3 separate regions of the Homo sapiens genome follow, and regions 2 and 3 are each linked to region 1. Evidence: promoter capture Hi-C in 16 types of primary human blood cells and fetal thymus (Javierre and others, 2016). All regions are on one chromosome and are shown on one strand. The core of a region is centred on a gene start or on the middle of the fragment in contact, and the rest is flanking DNA. Distances in the headings are between cores, read along the strand shown.

Evidence for each region. The method cuts DNA at HindIII sites, captures the fragments that hold promoters and counts their contacts. A CHiCAGO score of 5 or more calls a contact.
Region 2: a contact is called between a fragment that was not itself captured here and the fragment with the promoter of PCP2 in region 1, in 1 of 17 cell types (monocytes). The highest score is 5.2, in monocytes.
Region 3: a fragment that was not itself captured here is called in contact with the fragment with the promoter of PCP2 in region 1 in 1 of 17 cell types (neutrophils); the score reaches 6.3 in neutrophils.

Annotation. Positions count from the first base shown.
Region 1 is chr19:7,631,230-7,636,255 of GRCh38, reverse strand. It overlaps PCP2 (Purkinje cell protein 2), which reads left to right and starts at 2,537. Exons shown (of 4, transcript NM_174895.3): 1 at 2,537-2,849; 2 at 3,426-3,540; 3 at 3,739-3,863; 4 at 4,448-4,641. The coding sequence starts at 2,799. The coding sequence ends at 4,567. It overlaps PET100 (PET100 cytochrome c oxidase chaperone), which reads right to left. Exons shown (of 4, transcript NM_001171155.2): 4 at 4,300-4,783. The coding sequence ends at 4,700. It also overlaps a transcript of STXBP2 not described here. The HindIII fragment of the contact is 15,856 bases long and covers 1-2,658 here.
Region 2 is chr19:7,816,554-7,821,579 of GRCh38, reverse strand. It overlaps LOC124904628 (a long non-coding RNA gene), which reads right to left. Exons shown (of 2, transcript XR_007067118.1): 2 at 29-2,197. Among named protein-coding and RNA genes, the nearest start is that of EVI5L, 11 kb to the left of the region's middle. RefSeq lists an enhancer at 1,958-2,197. The HindIII fragment of the contact is 1,109 bases long and covers 1,109-2,217 here.
Region 3 is chr19:7,800,625-7,805,650 of GRCh38, reverse strand. All of the region lies in intron 1 of LOC124904628 (a long non-coding RNA gene), which reads right to left. Among named protein-coding and RNA genes, the nearest start is that of EVI5L, 27 kb to the left of the region's middle. The HindIII fragment of the contact is 7,100 bases long and covers 1-5,026 here.

The DNA of each region.
Region 1 (5,026 bases), core at 1,288-3,787:
CAAACAGACTCTTGCTGGTCTGAGCTGGTTCCTTCGCTCGGCCGTGTTGATGAAGGTACCAAGCCCCCTGCCACTTACATGGGACATAGGGAGTGAATCAGACCCGAAGGTCTGGGGGAGATAGGAAAGGATCCATGCTGCCCTAAAGGAAATAAACTAATGTGACAACAAGTGCCACAGAAGGTAGGGGTGGGAGGGGACTTTACTGAGGATGACCCCCGAGGGCCTCTCTGAAGAAGCAGCCTTTTGACATTATCCCTAAATGGATTCTAGAAGCAGCCACACAGCATGTCCAGGTAGAGAAGGGAGGAGCCCCGAGCTTAAGAAGGCTGGAGGGTGGGGGCAGCAGGGGCCAGACTTCTGTAGGACAAGGTCAGACTGACCCATCCCAGTGCCAGGATGCAGGACTTTCAGTGCTAAAAATAGGACAGTCACAGGCAAACCAGGACGGTTGGCAACCGTAGGTAGGAGTTTGAGCTATTTCTTCCTTTCCTTTCCTTTTCCCTTCCTTTCTTCCTTCTTCTCCCTCCTCCCCATTTTTGTTTGTTTTTGTTTTGTAAAGAGACGGGTCTCGCTCTGTTGCTCAGGCTGGAGGGCAGTGGCACGATCATAGCTCACTGCAGCCTCGACTTCCTGAGCTCAAGGGATTCTTCCACTTCGGCCACCCAAGTAGCTGGGACTACAGGTGCACGCCACCGTGCCCGGTTGATTTTGTTGTTGTTGTTAAGAGACAGGATCTCCCTATGTTGCCCAGGCTGGTATCAAACTCCTGGGCTCAAGGGATCCTCCTGCCTTGGCCTCCCAAAGTGTTAGGATTTTAGGTATGAGCCACCGCACCCTGCCCCTTCCTCCTTTTGTAACAGCTTTACTGAGATATAATTCACATACCATACAACTCGCTGACCTAAGGTGCGTAAGTCAATGGCTTTCAGTATTTTTGGAGTTGTGTGTCCATTACCACAATCCATTTTAGAACATTTCCACAACCCCTAGGTGTTTGGGTTTTGTCTTCTCAAGAGTTTTGAGCAGGGGAAGGCGGGGAACCCTCCAGATCCTGGGGGGATGGAAGCCAGGACCGCCTCCAGCTTCTCAGCCTGACCCCTTGGGGGGACAGAGAGCTGTTAGGGCCAGCCACCCCACCACTAACCCCCAAAAGATATGAAGTACTAATCCCCAATACCCCACAATAGGATCTTATTTGAAATGGGGTTAGTATAGATATTAGCAGTGAGCATGAGGTCACACTGGAGTAGAGTAGGCCCCTAATGCAATATCACTGGTGTCCTTGTAAGATAGTTATATGTCTGCCTGGTTCTGTGTAGGTGGTTGGGGGGGTGGGGAAATGGGTATATGAAGACTGGGACACAGAGGGAGAATGCCATGTGACCACGGAGGCAGGGAGTGAAGAGCTGCAGTGACAAGCCAAGGACATCAAGGACGGCAGGCCACTGCCAAAAGCCAGGGAGGGGCAAGGAGGGCTCCTGAGACCTGGTTTTCAGAGGGAGCACAGCTCTGCCAACACCTTCATTTCAGGCTGTGGCCTCTGGAACGTTGGCTCAATAAATTTGTTAAAAAAAAATTTTAAAGGCTCAGCATGGTGGCTCATGCCTGTAATCCCAGCACTTTGGGAGGCCCAGGCAGGAGGATCACATGAACCCAGGAGTTTGAGACTAGCCTGGGCAAAATAGTGAGACCTCATCTCTATATAAAAATATATAACAAAAGTCAACTTATGTGTTTTAAGCCATCTGGTCTATGACACTTTGTTCTGGCAGGCCTAGGAAAGGGATACACGTACTGAGGAGGGGGACACTTCATTGGCATAGAGGGAGAGAGTGTGAACTTGGCCTTTTGTGGAACAGAGGAGGCTCGGGCAGAGGTGGTGATAGTGCAGCCCATTCATTCTGAGATGAAACTTCCACTGGTTTCCGTAAAGGCGTCTTGGGGAGGGAAGGGAAGGGGATGGGGACCTCCCAGTGGTATCCCCTGCTTGGGCACTGAGGGAAAGCCACAGTGGCTCGGGGGAAAAGGCAGGGACGTCCTCTCCCCGCCTGCCTCTGTCCCCAGGGAGTCTCGCCTCCTGTTCCCACCTGGGGCTAGGGTGATAGAGGAGAGGAGATAGCTCAACCTGGCATTTAGGTGGTGTGGGAACAGGAGACCCCAGACTTTCTTGTTTTGGGGTCTGGGGCAGGCAACCAGGCTCCAGGGACAGTGAGTTGAAGGAAGGGTGGCTGGGAGACCCCTTGACTTGCTGCCAAGGAGACAGAGCTGGAGCTAGGGTGGCCGGTGGTGTCTGAGGCAGGTGCAGAGAGGGAGGGAGGGAAGGGGCCTTTGACTCCAACCTCCTTTTTCTGTACCGACTGCAGGTGGCAGCTGCCCTTTCAGGAGCCAGTGGGGGAACCTGGGTGGCTGGGTGGGGACACCTGCAAGTCCTCCCTAAGCCAGCTACCACCCTACACTGTTGGCCTCCCTTCTCCAACTGTGGGGATGCTGCTCAGGCCTTTTGTGACATCACACCTGAGAGTCCCTGGGGTCCAGTCATTGCTGCTGGGCACAGCGAGGTCCAAGCTCAGGTCGCCCTGCCCCCTACCCACCATGCCAGATCCAGCATCGTTGTGGGCAAACAATTATCTGGATGATCTTTATGGGGCTTAAGCTTGGGTGGGAGCAGATGGGGCATGAGCTGGGGATTTGGGGATGGGGGGAATCCACACCCCCACGTCCTGGACGTTTAAAAGGCCCTCTCTGGCACTGGGCCGGGGCAGAGGCCAGCAGAAAAGTGACTGGAGTCCAGGGACATGATGGATCAGGAGGAGAAGACGGAGGAAGGCTCAGGCCCCTGTGCCGAGGTGAGAGGGCCCTGCCCCCACCCCACCCCCAGCTCAAGGTCTCAGAGCCCATGATTGACAAGACTAGTTTGTAGGGCACCTAATTAACGAGTGAGTCTCCTAGGACCCCCTGACCCAGTTGTGGCTGTAGAAAGGGGCTGGTGGGCTTGGGGGTCTGAGTGCCAGGCCCCAGGGCAGAGGGCAGGGCTCTCCGTGTGGACCCCTATTGATGGGAGATGCTGGGACCTGGGGGTAGCTCCTGGGCCATGTTTCCCTGATTCGTGTCCCAGCTCCCAGGCCACACTCATCAGGCCCCAATCTAGGACGGCGGGACACGCATCGGAGCCTGTCCCTTGAAGCGGTACCACGTGAAGTGGCACTGCTGGCCAGGGCCCCTGGGGCGGGGGCCGGGATTGGGAAGGAGACTCATGTCTCATTCAGAACAGCTCTGCAGAGAGGATCGGCGGGGACCATGGTGAGAGCTGAGGAAGTGGGGACGGCAGGCCCCGGGGTCAGGGTGTGAGCAAGCTGGCTAGGAAGTTTGGGGAGGGGCCCCCAAGCTGAAGGGCCAACCAGACTGAGCGAGTCTGTCCCCAGGCGGGCTCCCCAGACCAGGAGGGCTTCTTCAATCTGCTGAGCCACGTGCAGGGCGACCGGATGGAGGGACAGCGCTGTTCACTGCAAGCCGGGCCGGGCCAGACCACCAAGAGCCGTGAGCATGGGCACGGGGGTGCTGTCCATGGGGCGTGAACGGGGTGGGAGTGCAGGGCAAGTGGTCATCTGGAGGGCCTGGGGGCACGGGATGTGGGAGGTGGTTGTGCACCCTGAAGCATCTGTGTGGGGGTGAAGGGGTAGGGTTGGGGGCCCCCACTCCGGCTGTGTCCTCCCAAGTCTGTGAACGTCCACGCAGAGAGCGACCCCACCCCCGAGATGGACAGCCTCATGGACATGCTGGCCAGTACCCAGGGCCGCCGCATGGATGACCAACGTGTGACAGTCAGCAGCCTGCCCGGCTTCCAGCCCGTGGGGTCCAAGGTAGGTGATGTTCTGGCGATGTCGAGGAGAAACCCGCCAGGCAGTGCTCTCCGATCCTGCCCTCCACCCCAGCCAGGAGGGAACAGGGCCTGCCCCATCTCTGTCCATCCGCTGCCCTGACTTCAGATGGGAGGACCAAGGCCCAGGCAGTGGCTAGAGGGGCCCAAGGTTATACAGGGGCCATGCTAGTGTAAGACCCATGGCTGGAACTTGTGGCTCCTGCCCCCAAGTCTGAAGGTTCTGGGGAGGCCAAAGGGAGAAAATAGGACCCCTTCCTAGGAAAGTATCCCAGGGAGGAAGTCACGTAAGCTCACACATAGGATATATACATCTGTATACTCACATCTGTTGACTTCACACATACACGAAGCTTGGGTTCTGATCAAGATCCCAGCGAGGGCCCCAAGACCTGCCACCTCACACTCAAATGCCACCCTAAATGGCAGATATTGAGGGTAAACATAGACCAGTGCTCACAATGAGGTGGGACACGGTGGCTACCTGCACCCTCTCTCCATTGTTCGCCACCTGTGGCCGGCACTGCCCTTGAGCCCTCCCCCTGGCTGACCCCTCTTCATCCACAGGACGGAGCACAGAAACGAGCTGGGACCCTCAGTCCCCAACCCCTGCTCACCCCTCAGGACCCGACCGCTCTCGGCTTCCGTCGGAACAGCAGCCCCCAGCCCCCGACACAAGCCCCCTGAGGGCCTGAGGCATCCTGGGTCTCACTCGGCCCCCAAAAACTGATAAAAGAATAAAACACTTAAATGAATAACAAGGAACTGAGTATATGTATATTTCATCAGGGGAGGGGCTAGGACTCCCACTTGGAGGCCTCAGGAGTTCTGCTGGGCGTCGCGAAGGAGCTTCTCCTCCCGCCGCTTCCGTAACCTCTCTTTGAATTCCTCTATCTCTTGAAGCTAGGGGTGGAGAAGCGGGTGGGACAGGAAGGGGGGAGGGGCACACACCTCAGAGCCGGGACCACCCCCCCCCGCCCACCTCTCCCACCACCCTGCCCCAGACCACGGCTTCAGGGTTCAGTGTCTTCACTGGAAGCCCCCTGCCAATTACAAAGGGGTCCGCGTGGGATCCGCTTCACTCTTCCAGGAGAAGGCAATAAGGAAACCATCTACTCCTCTGCTCTCGGTTCCTTACTCATGGCT
Region 2 (5,026 bases), core at 414-2,913, 190 kb before region 1:
TATAGGCATGAGCCACCACGCCTGGCCATTTCTTTATTGATAGTCTCATTTTATTCATACATTGTTTTCCTGGTTTCCTTTAGATTTTTGTCCATGTTTTCCCTTAGCTCTTTGAGCATATTTAAGACAATTATTTTAAAGTCTTTGTCTAGTAAGTCTCAGATCTGGACTTTCTCAGGAATAATTCCTTTCAATTTGTTATTTTTTTTCCCCTTTCAATGGGCCATAATTTCCTTTTTCTCTGTATACCTTGTGATTTTTCTTGTTAAAAACTGGACATTTGAATATTTGTAATGTGATAAATTTGGATGTCAGATTCTCCCACTGTCCCAGGGTTTGCTGGTTTGTTGTTTGTTTTATTGTTAAAGACCGTAGTAGTTTTGGCTTAATGACTTTCCAAAACTATTCTTGCAAAGACTATATTACTTGTCGCATGTGGTCACTGAAGTCTCTATTCCTTAGCTTGTGTTCAGCTAGTGTTTTGACAGATTTTCTTGAATACCAGGAGCTAAAAAAGCAAGCAAACCAACCAAACAAAAAATCTTTCCCTCGCTCAGTCTTTGCAGATTGGCCCTGTGCTGGAGCACTCTTTCAACATTTAACCCAGCTTGCCCTGAGCCTAGGGATCAGCTGAGCATAACTTAGGGTCTTCTCAGGTCTTTTCTGAGCATGCATCTTGCTGTGGGCATAACCCTGTGTTTATAAATCCCCCTATGCATGCAGGTGCTTCTAATTTCCCCAGGAAACTCTCCCCAGCTTTTGCTCCTGAGCCTTAGGCCGTCTATTGTGTGTTTTGATTGTAATCTTTGGAACAGACATCTGTGGTTTGTTAGTTTGGCTTGCAGTGTTTTTGAGCAGTGCCACCACTTTTCCAGCCTGAGTTCCGAGGCAGGAAGACCAGAGATGAGCACCTTGTCCTTCAGGTGGCTCCCAGACAGCTTAGAGCGGACATACACTATCATCTACAAATAAAGTCTGCTCTGCTCCCTCTGGAAGGAGGAATGAGAGTCTCATGCTGGGAGTGTGGGCTTCCCTCTTCCCACTACTGCTGTCACACAAGGGAGGGCAGTGGCAAGTGGGGCAAACGCAAGTCGAAATATCAAAAGCTTTTGATCATTTTGAAGTTGTCTTTCTTCTTGATTCAGCATTCACTGGACTACCGTAAACCTTTGACTGTTTCCCAGAGTTCTGACAAAGTTGTATCTGACAGTTTCTGCTTGTTTTTTGATGTTTCTGTGGGGAACGCGGGCTTGGAACTGTCTACTTTGTCATTTTGCACTGATCTTGCCACTCTTAACCATCATGTGAACAAGCCAGAGGTAGCCTGAAAGGTGAGAGGCACATGGCTCAGTCACCCTCATGGCCTAAACTGTCAGCCGACCAACCTCCAGCTGTGAGTGAGGTTATCTGTTCCAGTTTCCTTTCTTCTTTTCTTTTTTCTTTCTTTCTTTCTTTTTTTTTTTTGAGATGCAGCTTCTGTCTCATTGCCCAGGCTAGAGTGCAATGGTGTGGTCTTGGCTCAATGCCATCTCTGCCTCCCGGGTTCAAGCAATTCTGCTGCCTCAGCCTCCCAAGTAGCTGGGATTACAGGCTCACGCCACCACGCCTGGCTAATTTTTTGTATTTTTTTTAGTAGAGATGGGGTTTCACCATGTTGGCCAGGCTGGTCTTGAACTCCTGACCTCAGGTGATCCACCTGTCTCAGCCTCCCAAAGTGCCGGGATTACAGTCATGAGCCACTGCACCCAGCCGTGTTCCAGTTTTCGATTGCTGTGTAAGAAACCATCCGAGAACTCAGTGGCATAAAACAGCAATCATTTTTAATATGCTCATGGTTTTTGTGGGTCTGAAGTTTGGACAGGGCATAGTGGGGATGGTTTGTCTCTGATCCATGACATCTAGGGCTTAAGGTGGGGAGACTTGAAGAGTGGGGGAGTGCCTCCAGTGGCTGGGAGCTGGTATCTGGTGGCTGGGATTATCTGGTAGCTTCTTCATTCACATGTCTGGTTCCTGGGCTGGGATGACTCAAATGATTGAAGTCTCTTGGGGGATCGATCTCTTTCTCTCTCTCTCTCGCTCTCCTCCTGTAGCTTCAGGGACTTTCCATGTGGTCTCTCCACATGACATCTCCATCACTGCAGTCTCAGGGTAGTTGAACTTTTTACATGTTGTCTCAAGGCTCTGGAAGTGAATCTTCCTGCAAACAAGACAGAAGCTTGCATGATGTGTTATGATCTAGCCTTGGAGGTTATATAATATCACTTCTGCTCTACTCTATTGGTTGAAGCAATCCAAGCCTGCTCAGATTCAAGGGGAGGGGATAGTGAGTTTGCCTCTCAAGAAGAGCTTTGTTAAAGTATTTTCAGCTACATTTTCAAGTTGCCAAAGCATTCAAGAGTAGCCAGATTTAGCCAATCCATCAGCTGACCACAGATGCATAAATGAGCCCAGCTATACCCAGAAGAACTTTCCAGCTGAATCTGACCCAAATTGGTGAACCACACAATCATGTACCAAATAAATTATTAGCCCAAGCCATTAATTTTGGGAGCATTTTGTTATGCAGCAATAGCGAACTGATACATCCTTGTAGGTGTATGCCTACAAGCATACTCACTAAGCCTAATATTGGCCGACCACATCCAGGACCCCTACACAGTGATGCAAGCCAGCAGATTTATCCAGTGACTCTTCTATGTCTGTGTTCACCCCACAGTTTATCACCCCTGGTTTTACCTGTCATGACAATTACACCCATCCACTGCTCCTTGACTATTCTGTGAATAGAATTCCTGAACGTAATAAAAAATTGTTGAATTGAAGCAATCTCTAGCTATTCCACTCTAAGACCACATAGCTTACCCCATTGAATCTTTCATTTCACCAATATTAATTTATCACCTACTATATGCCATTCACTCTTTTTTCAGTTTGTTTTTTGAGACAGAGTCTCACTCTGTCACACAGGCTGGAGTGTAATGGCATGATCTCAGCTCACTGCAACCTCTGCCTCCTAGGTTCAAGTGATTCTTGTGTCTCAGCCTCCTGAGTAGCTGGGATTACAGGTGCACGCCACCATGTCTGGCTAATTTTTGTATTTTTAATAGAGACAGGGTTTCACCATGTTGCCCAGGCTGGTCTTGAACTCCTGACCTCAGGTGATCCACCTGCCTCAGCCTCCCAAAGTGCTGGGATTACAGGTGTGAGCCACTATGCCCAGCCTCCATTCACTCATTAAAACACTGGAGAAGTGATGGTTAACATGAACCAAAGTGTTCCTGCTCTAATAGACTTATATATTTATATGCTGGTGGGGTGTAGTAAGTAGCTTCTGAAATGGTCCCCACCTCCTAGTATTCATGGCCTTCTGTGATCCTCTACTGGTGATTATCTTGCTTCTAACCAATAGAATACTTCATCATTGAGAAACTGTCACTTCTGAGATTATATTCCAAAATATTCTGACTTCTATCTTGCTAGCAGACTTTTCCCCTTGATGGCTTTGATGAAGCAAGTTGCTATGTTGGAGAAACCCATGTGGCAATAAGCTGAGGGTGTCCTCTGGCCAACAGCCAGCTAGGAACTGAGATAATTTGCCCAACAGCACAAAAGGAACTGATTCTGCCAACAGTCACATGAGTGAGCTAGGAAGTGAATCCTTCCCCAGTTGAGCCTTCAGATGAAACCTTAATCCTGGCCATCTCCTTGATTGCCGTCTTATGAGAGACCCCAGGCAAAGGATCCAGGCAAGTCATGCCCAGATTCCTGACCCATAAAAACTATAAAATAATAAATGTATGTTGTTTAAGCTGGGCCATTTGTGGCAATTTGTTTGTGGCAATCAATAACTATTAGGTGTGGGGTGGGGGGAGGCGGAGTTGAAACAAACATAGTAATAATTTGGAAATTAATCACAGAGTGATACAAATCATCTGAAATAGGAAACCTGAACAGATTAGATATTATAGGAGCCCATCTGTGGTCAGCTTGCAGGCTGACTAGATCTGGCAACTTTGTGGATGCTTTGGCAATTTGAAAACAGCTGAAAAGAAGGTAATTAGAGATCTAATAAGAAGAAAGGCACCAGGCCCAGATAGTTTTATGGGCTCACCCTGGTTGTCTCCATACCCTACCTTGTGGCCATTTAGTTTCTTTCTTTTTTCTTTTTTTTTTGAGACAGGGCCTCATGGTGTCACACAGGCTGGAGTACAGTGGCACAATCTTAGCTTGCTGCAACCTCCACCTCCCAGGCTCAAGCCATCCTTCCACCTCAGCCTCCTGAGTAGCTGGAACTACAGGCATGCACCACCATGCCTAGCTAATTTTTGTATTTTTAGTAGAGATGAGGTTTCACCATGTTCCCCAGGCTGGTCTCAAACTCCTAAACTCAAGAGATCCACTCGCCTTGGCCTCCCAAAGTGCTGGGATTACAGGCATGAGCCGCTGCACCCAGCCATGGCCATTTAGTTTCTACAACCAGTTTGGACTTTCACTCTTGGCTGATTGGAACTTGGTTGGTTTCTCACTTAGTTCCTGCCTTGGCTCCTTCCTCTGACTTTGCTACCCAGTGTAACCTCACTGGCTCCAGCTCTGGAGAAACTTGAAAGACAGTCCAGCTGTGACTGTCTTTCCTTCTTGCCTTCCCAGTAGCAGGAGTGAATTTGGATAGTAAAGACTTGTAAATGACAGGGACATTTTGAGGGCAGGCAGAAGAGGAGCCCATGAAGGAGATGGAGAAGGAGCGGTCAGGCAGACAGGAGGAGAACCAGGAGGTGAGGCCATCAGGGAAGTCTTGGGAGAGAGGAGTTTCAAGGAGGAGGGAGGGAGTGGCCACCCCATTAATGAGTGGAAACAAGATAGAAACAAGTCTGGTTGGCTTTCACAAAGGAACGGTAGTTACTCTCCTTGGTCATTTCAGGAAAGTGGTGGCAGGTGGGGCAGCCATCAGAGGGTTAGAGGGAGCAGATGAAGGCAGAAGTGACAACCCTTTTTCTTTTTCTTTCTTTCTTTCTTTTTTTTTTTTTAA
Region 3 (5,026 bases), core at 1,623-4,122, 170 kb before region 1:
GCCTGTGGCAATACTTAACAGTTGGGGAAATAATAGCCTAACTAAAAATCTTAGAAGGAAAAGCGCCAGGCGCGGTGGTTCACGCCTGTAATCCCAGCACTTTGGGAGGTCGAGGCGGGAGGATCACTTGAGGTCAGGAGATCGAGACCATCCTGGCTAACACGGTGAAACCCCGTCTCTACTGAAAATACAAAAAATTAGCCGGGTGTGGTGGCGGGCGCCTGTAGTCCAAGCCAGGAGAATGGTGTGAACCCAGGAGGCGGAGCTGGCAGTGAGCCGAGATCGCGCCACTGCACTCCAGCCTGAGCCACAGAGCGAGACTCCGTCTCAAAAAAAAAAAAAAAAAAAATCTTAGAAGGAAAAATGAAGACATTAGATGTTCGGAGGGACTTTTGAAAAATTCTGACATATTTCTGGGGATATGGAAGGCCACATGCTTAGGAAAGACCTGAGACAGCCCTAAGCTCACACCGCTGGCCGACTTCGAGGCTCTGTGTAAGCAGGAAGTGAGAGCTAAAGCACAGTTGTAAATTTCCTGGGTGAATGTTGAAGGTGTGTCCCTAATAAGTACACAGAGCTCCCTGGCAAAGACTGGCAGACTTCCGATTCCAGACATTCAAGGAAATCTCTGTCCAACCACTAGCTAACCATGAAGCTAACTGAGCAAAGACTTCAGTAGCCATGACAGAGAATATAGACTTTACAGAAGTAGTTTAGAAAAGTCATTTAACAGGCCTGGCACAGTGGCTCATGCCTGTAATCCCAGCACTTTGGGAGGCTGAGACAGGTGGATCACCTGAGGTCAGGAGTTCGAAACCAGCCTGACCAACATGGTGAAACCCTGTCTCTACTAAAAATACAAAAATTAGCCAGGTGTGGTGGGGTGTGCCTGTAATCCCAGCTACTCAAGAGGCTGAGGCAGGAGAATCGCTTGAACCCAGGAGGCAGAGGTTGCAGTAAGCCGAGATCACGCCATTGCACTCCAGCCTGGGCGACAGAGCGAGACTCCACCTCAAAAAAAACTATTTTTATAGTGACAGGGTCTCACTATGTTGCCCAGGCTGAGCTTGAGCCCCTGGGCTCAAGTGATCCACTGACTTTAGCTTTCCAAAGTGTTGGGATTACAGGCATGAGCCATCACACTCGGCCAGCTGTTGGCATTTAGAATAGTCTTTCTAGCAAGACCAATATTCCAGGACCATAAAAGCTGACTGAATATCTGTTCTAGGATGAGGGATAGGCTCCAGGGATTCCTTTCTTCCCTGGAAGGTTGACTCTTGTGTGTTGGGGAGTGGGGCAGGGGGGTGGGCTGGGGCCAAGGGCCAGGGAGGACAATTTGGTCCTGACTCTCTTATTTGGGGTCTTTATGGATCTGCTCTAACACCAGCCAGTTAGAGCCAGGAGACTGCAAGCTGGGACCTGTGCATTGATCAGGTATGCCTGAGGCCAATGGTGAAGGGAGGATGGACCCTTTGAATCCAGTTATTTGGCTCTCTGGGCTCCTGCCCTGAGGTTCCCTCCAGCCCTGCTGCCCCAGCATCTAAGCCTGGAGTACCAGGGGCTCGAGGGCATGCGTGAGCCATGGACAGGATCCTGGGGAAGTTCCAGCTTAACCTGGGGGCCTCTTCCTTCTGCCCCAGCCACAGCCGGTACTTACTCAGCTCCACCCCCAGGAAGAGACTCCTGGGCTTCTCCTGTCCACCTGTGCTTCCATTGTACATTTGTCACTACAACCTGGAAGAGGCTCTGCCGTTGAGGTTGTCAGTCAGCCTGGAAGTCAATCCTGTCAGTTCGTCTCTGTTGCTGTTCAGTGAGTCAGAGATCTCCACTTGATCATCAGTAAGTTAGACTAGATCTGTCTGTGGATCTTCCAAATTGCCACTTAACCCAGCTCAGCAAGCAGTTAGGCCACCAGGTACGCATTTCGACTTCCATCCCCCACCTGGGAGTCTTTCTCAGCTAGTTACTCTTTGAGCTAGGATGCATGATGGCCTGCAAAGATATCCAAGTCCTGGCCAGGCATGGTGGCTCACATGTGTAATCCCAGCAGTTTGGGAGGCTGAGGCGGGCGGATCACCTGAGGTCGGGAGTTCGAGACCGGCCTGACCAAGATGGTGAAACTCTGTCTCTACTAAAAATACAAAGTTAGCCAGGTGTGGTGGTGCATGTCTGTAATCCCAGCTACTCAGGAGGCTGAGACAGGAGAATCACTTGAACCTGGGAGGTGGAGGTTGCAGTGAGTTGAGATCATGCCATTGCACTCCAACCTGGGCAACAAGAGTGAAACTCCTTCTCAAAAAAAAAAAAAAAAAAGATATCCAAGTCCTAATCCCTGGATCCTATGAATGTCACCTTATATGGCAAAAAGAGACTTTGCAGATATGATTGCGATTTTAAGATAGAAAGATATTGTGTGCTAAATAATCTGTCTAGTCACTACCTCTGGTTCCTGGCAGGGGGCGTCTAAACTCTTGGAATTTTCCAAGTAATAGAAGTGTCTTAATGGCCAACAAACATATGGAAAAATGCTCAACATCACTAATGATCAGGGAGATGCAAATCAAAACCACAATGTGATACCACCTTACTCCTGCAAGAATGGCCATAATCAAAGACTCAAAAAATAATAGATGTTGGTGTGGATGTGGCAAACAGGGAACACTTTTACACTGCTGGTGGGAATGTAAACTAGTACAACCACTATGGAAAACAGCGTGGAGATTCCTTAAAGAACTAAAAGTAAAACTACCATTTGAGCCAGCAATCCCACTACTGGGTATCTATCCAGAGGAAAAGAAGTCATGATACAAAAAAGATACTTGTTCACACATGTTTATAGCAGCACAATTCGCAAGTGCAAAAACGTGGAACAAACCTAAATTTCCATCAGTCAACGAATGGGTGAAGAAACTGTGGCATACATATAAAATGGAATACTACTCAGCCATGAAACGGAATGAATTAATGGGATTTGCAGCAACCTGGATGGGACTGGAGACCATTATTCTAAGTGAAGGAACTCAGGAATGGAAAACCAAACATTGTATACTCTCACTCATAAGTGGGAGCTAAGCTATGAGGATGCAAAGGCATAAGAATGACACAGTGGATTTTGGGGGCTCAAGGGGAAAGGGTGGAAAGCTGACGGATAGAATACTACAAATTAGGTGCAGTGTATACTGCTTGGGAGATGGGTGCACCAAACTCTCATGAATCACCACTAAGGAATTTAATCATGTAACCAAATACATGTTCCCCCAAACCTATGGAAATAAAAAAAAAAAAGAAGCGTCTTTATTATTCATGGGGGCCCTGGACCATAACTGAGCTTATACCAAGGAGGTGACTCAGGATGGGGGCTGGTCATGCCAGAAACACCAACCACCAAGGTTGGGATTTTTAGCCACCTGACCTCCAGGAAGGGGAAGGGGCTGAAGGTGGGGTTCAATCATGTAGATAATGGTTGGATCAACCCCACCTACTTTTTAATCCTGCCTATTTTTAAATACAAAACTAGCCGGGCATGGTGACACACACCTATAATCCCAGCTACCAGGGAGGCTGAGGCACGAGAATCCCTTGAACCTGGGAGGTGGAGGATGCAGTGAGCTGAGATTGTGCCACTGCACTCCAGCCTGGGTGACAGAGTGAGACTCCATCTAAAAAACAAATAAATGAGGCCAGGCGCGGTGGCTCACACCTGTAATCCCAGCACTTTGGGAGGCTGAGGCGGGTGGATCACGAGGTCAGGAGATCAAGACCATCCTGGCTAACATGGTGAAACCCCGTCTCTACTAAAAATACAAAAAATTAGCTGGGCGTGCTGGTGGGCACCTGTAGTCCCAGCTGTTCCGGAGGCTGAGGCAGGAGAATGGCCTGAACCTGGGAGGTGGAGCTTGCAGTGAGCTGAGATCACGCCACTGCACTCCAGCCTGGGAGACAGCGAGACTGTGTCTCAAAAAAAATAAAGTAAATAAATAAATAAATAAATAAATAAAACAAAACAAAAAAGAAGAGCTCACCAGAGCCAGCAGCCTGAAACAAAAGTGCTGGTGGAAAGGTTTATGGGGTGCCAGTTTAGTCAGTCACCCCTGTGTAGGACACCTATGGAAAACTGTAGGGGGCCCTTAGGAGAATCATCTCCGCAAGCCATTAAGTTCCCAGGCCAGAGGGCATGACCTGCTCTGCGGCTTTACACAGAATGCTCTGGGCTGACACACTCCCTTGAAGTGTTGGAACGTGACCAGACATCCTAGCTCCTTGTAAAACCGGCCCCCACCAGCTGCAGCCCGATAAGTTAAAGACTGTCTTAGCAGTTAGACATATGCTTTTAGCTTAAAGGAAATTCATATAACCGCCACTGCTCTACATCTTTCCAATGACGTACGCTCCCGCTCCTTCACCGTTTCATCCCAGCTGCTTCTTAGATCAAAAGATTGTGCTCAATAAATCGTCAGGCAACCAGAACTCTGGGCGTTTTGCAGCCTTCACTCTAGCAACTGGCCCCCTGGGCCTGCTTTAAAATCTTAACTTGTCTTTTCTCATTCCTTTGTCGCCACCGGACTTCAGGTACCCACGGGTAGTGTTGAGGCTGGACCCCACCATCTGGCGCCCAACGTGGTATCTCCAAAACAACCGGGTGAAGGAATGCAGGAGCGTCGAAAATGAAGGACCGACAGATGGAGAACTCCCAAGGACGAAAAGTTTTTTTTTAATTTTTACTTATTTATTTATTTATTTATTTTTGAGACGGAGTCTCGCTCTGTCACCCAGGCTGGAGTGCAGTGGCTCGATGTCGGCTCACTGCAAGCTCCGCCTCCCGGGTTCACGCCCTTCTCCTGCCTCAGCTCCCAAGTAGCTGGGACTACAGGCGCCCGCCTCCACGCCCGGCTAACTTTTTGTATTTTTAGTAGAGACGGGGTTTCACCATGTTAGCTATGATGGTCTTGATCTCCTGACCTCGTGATCCGCCCGCCTCGGCCTCCCAAAGTGCTGGGATTACAGGCGTGAGCCACCGCGCCGGCCA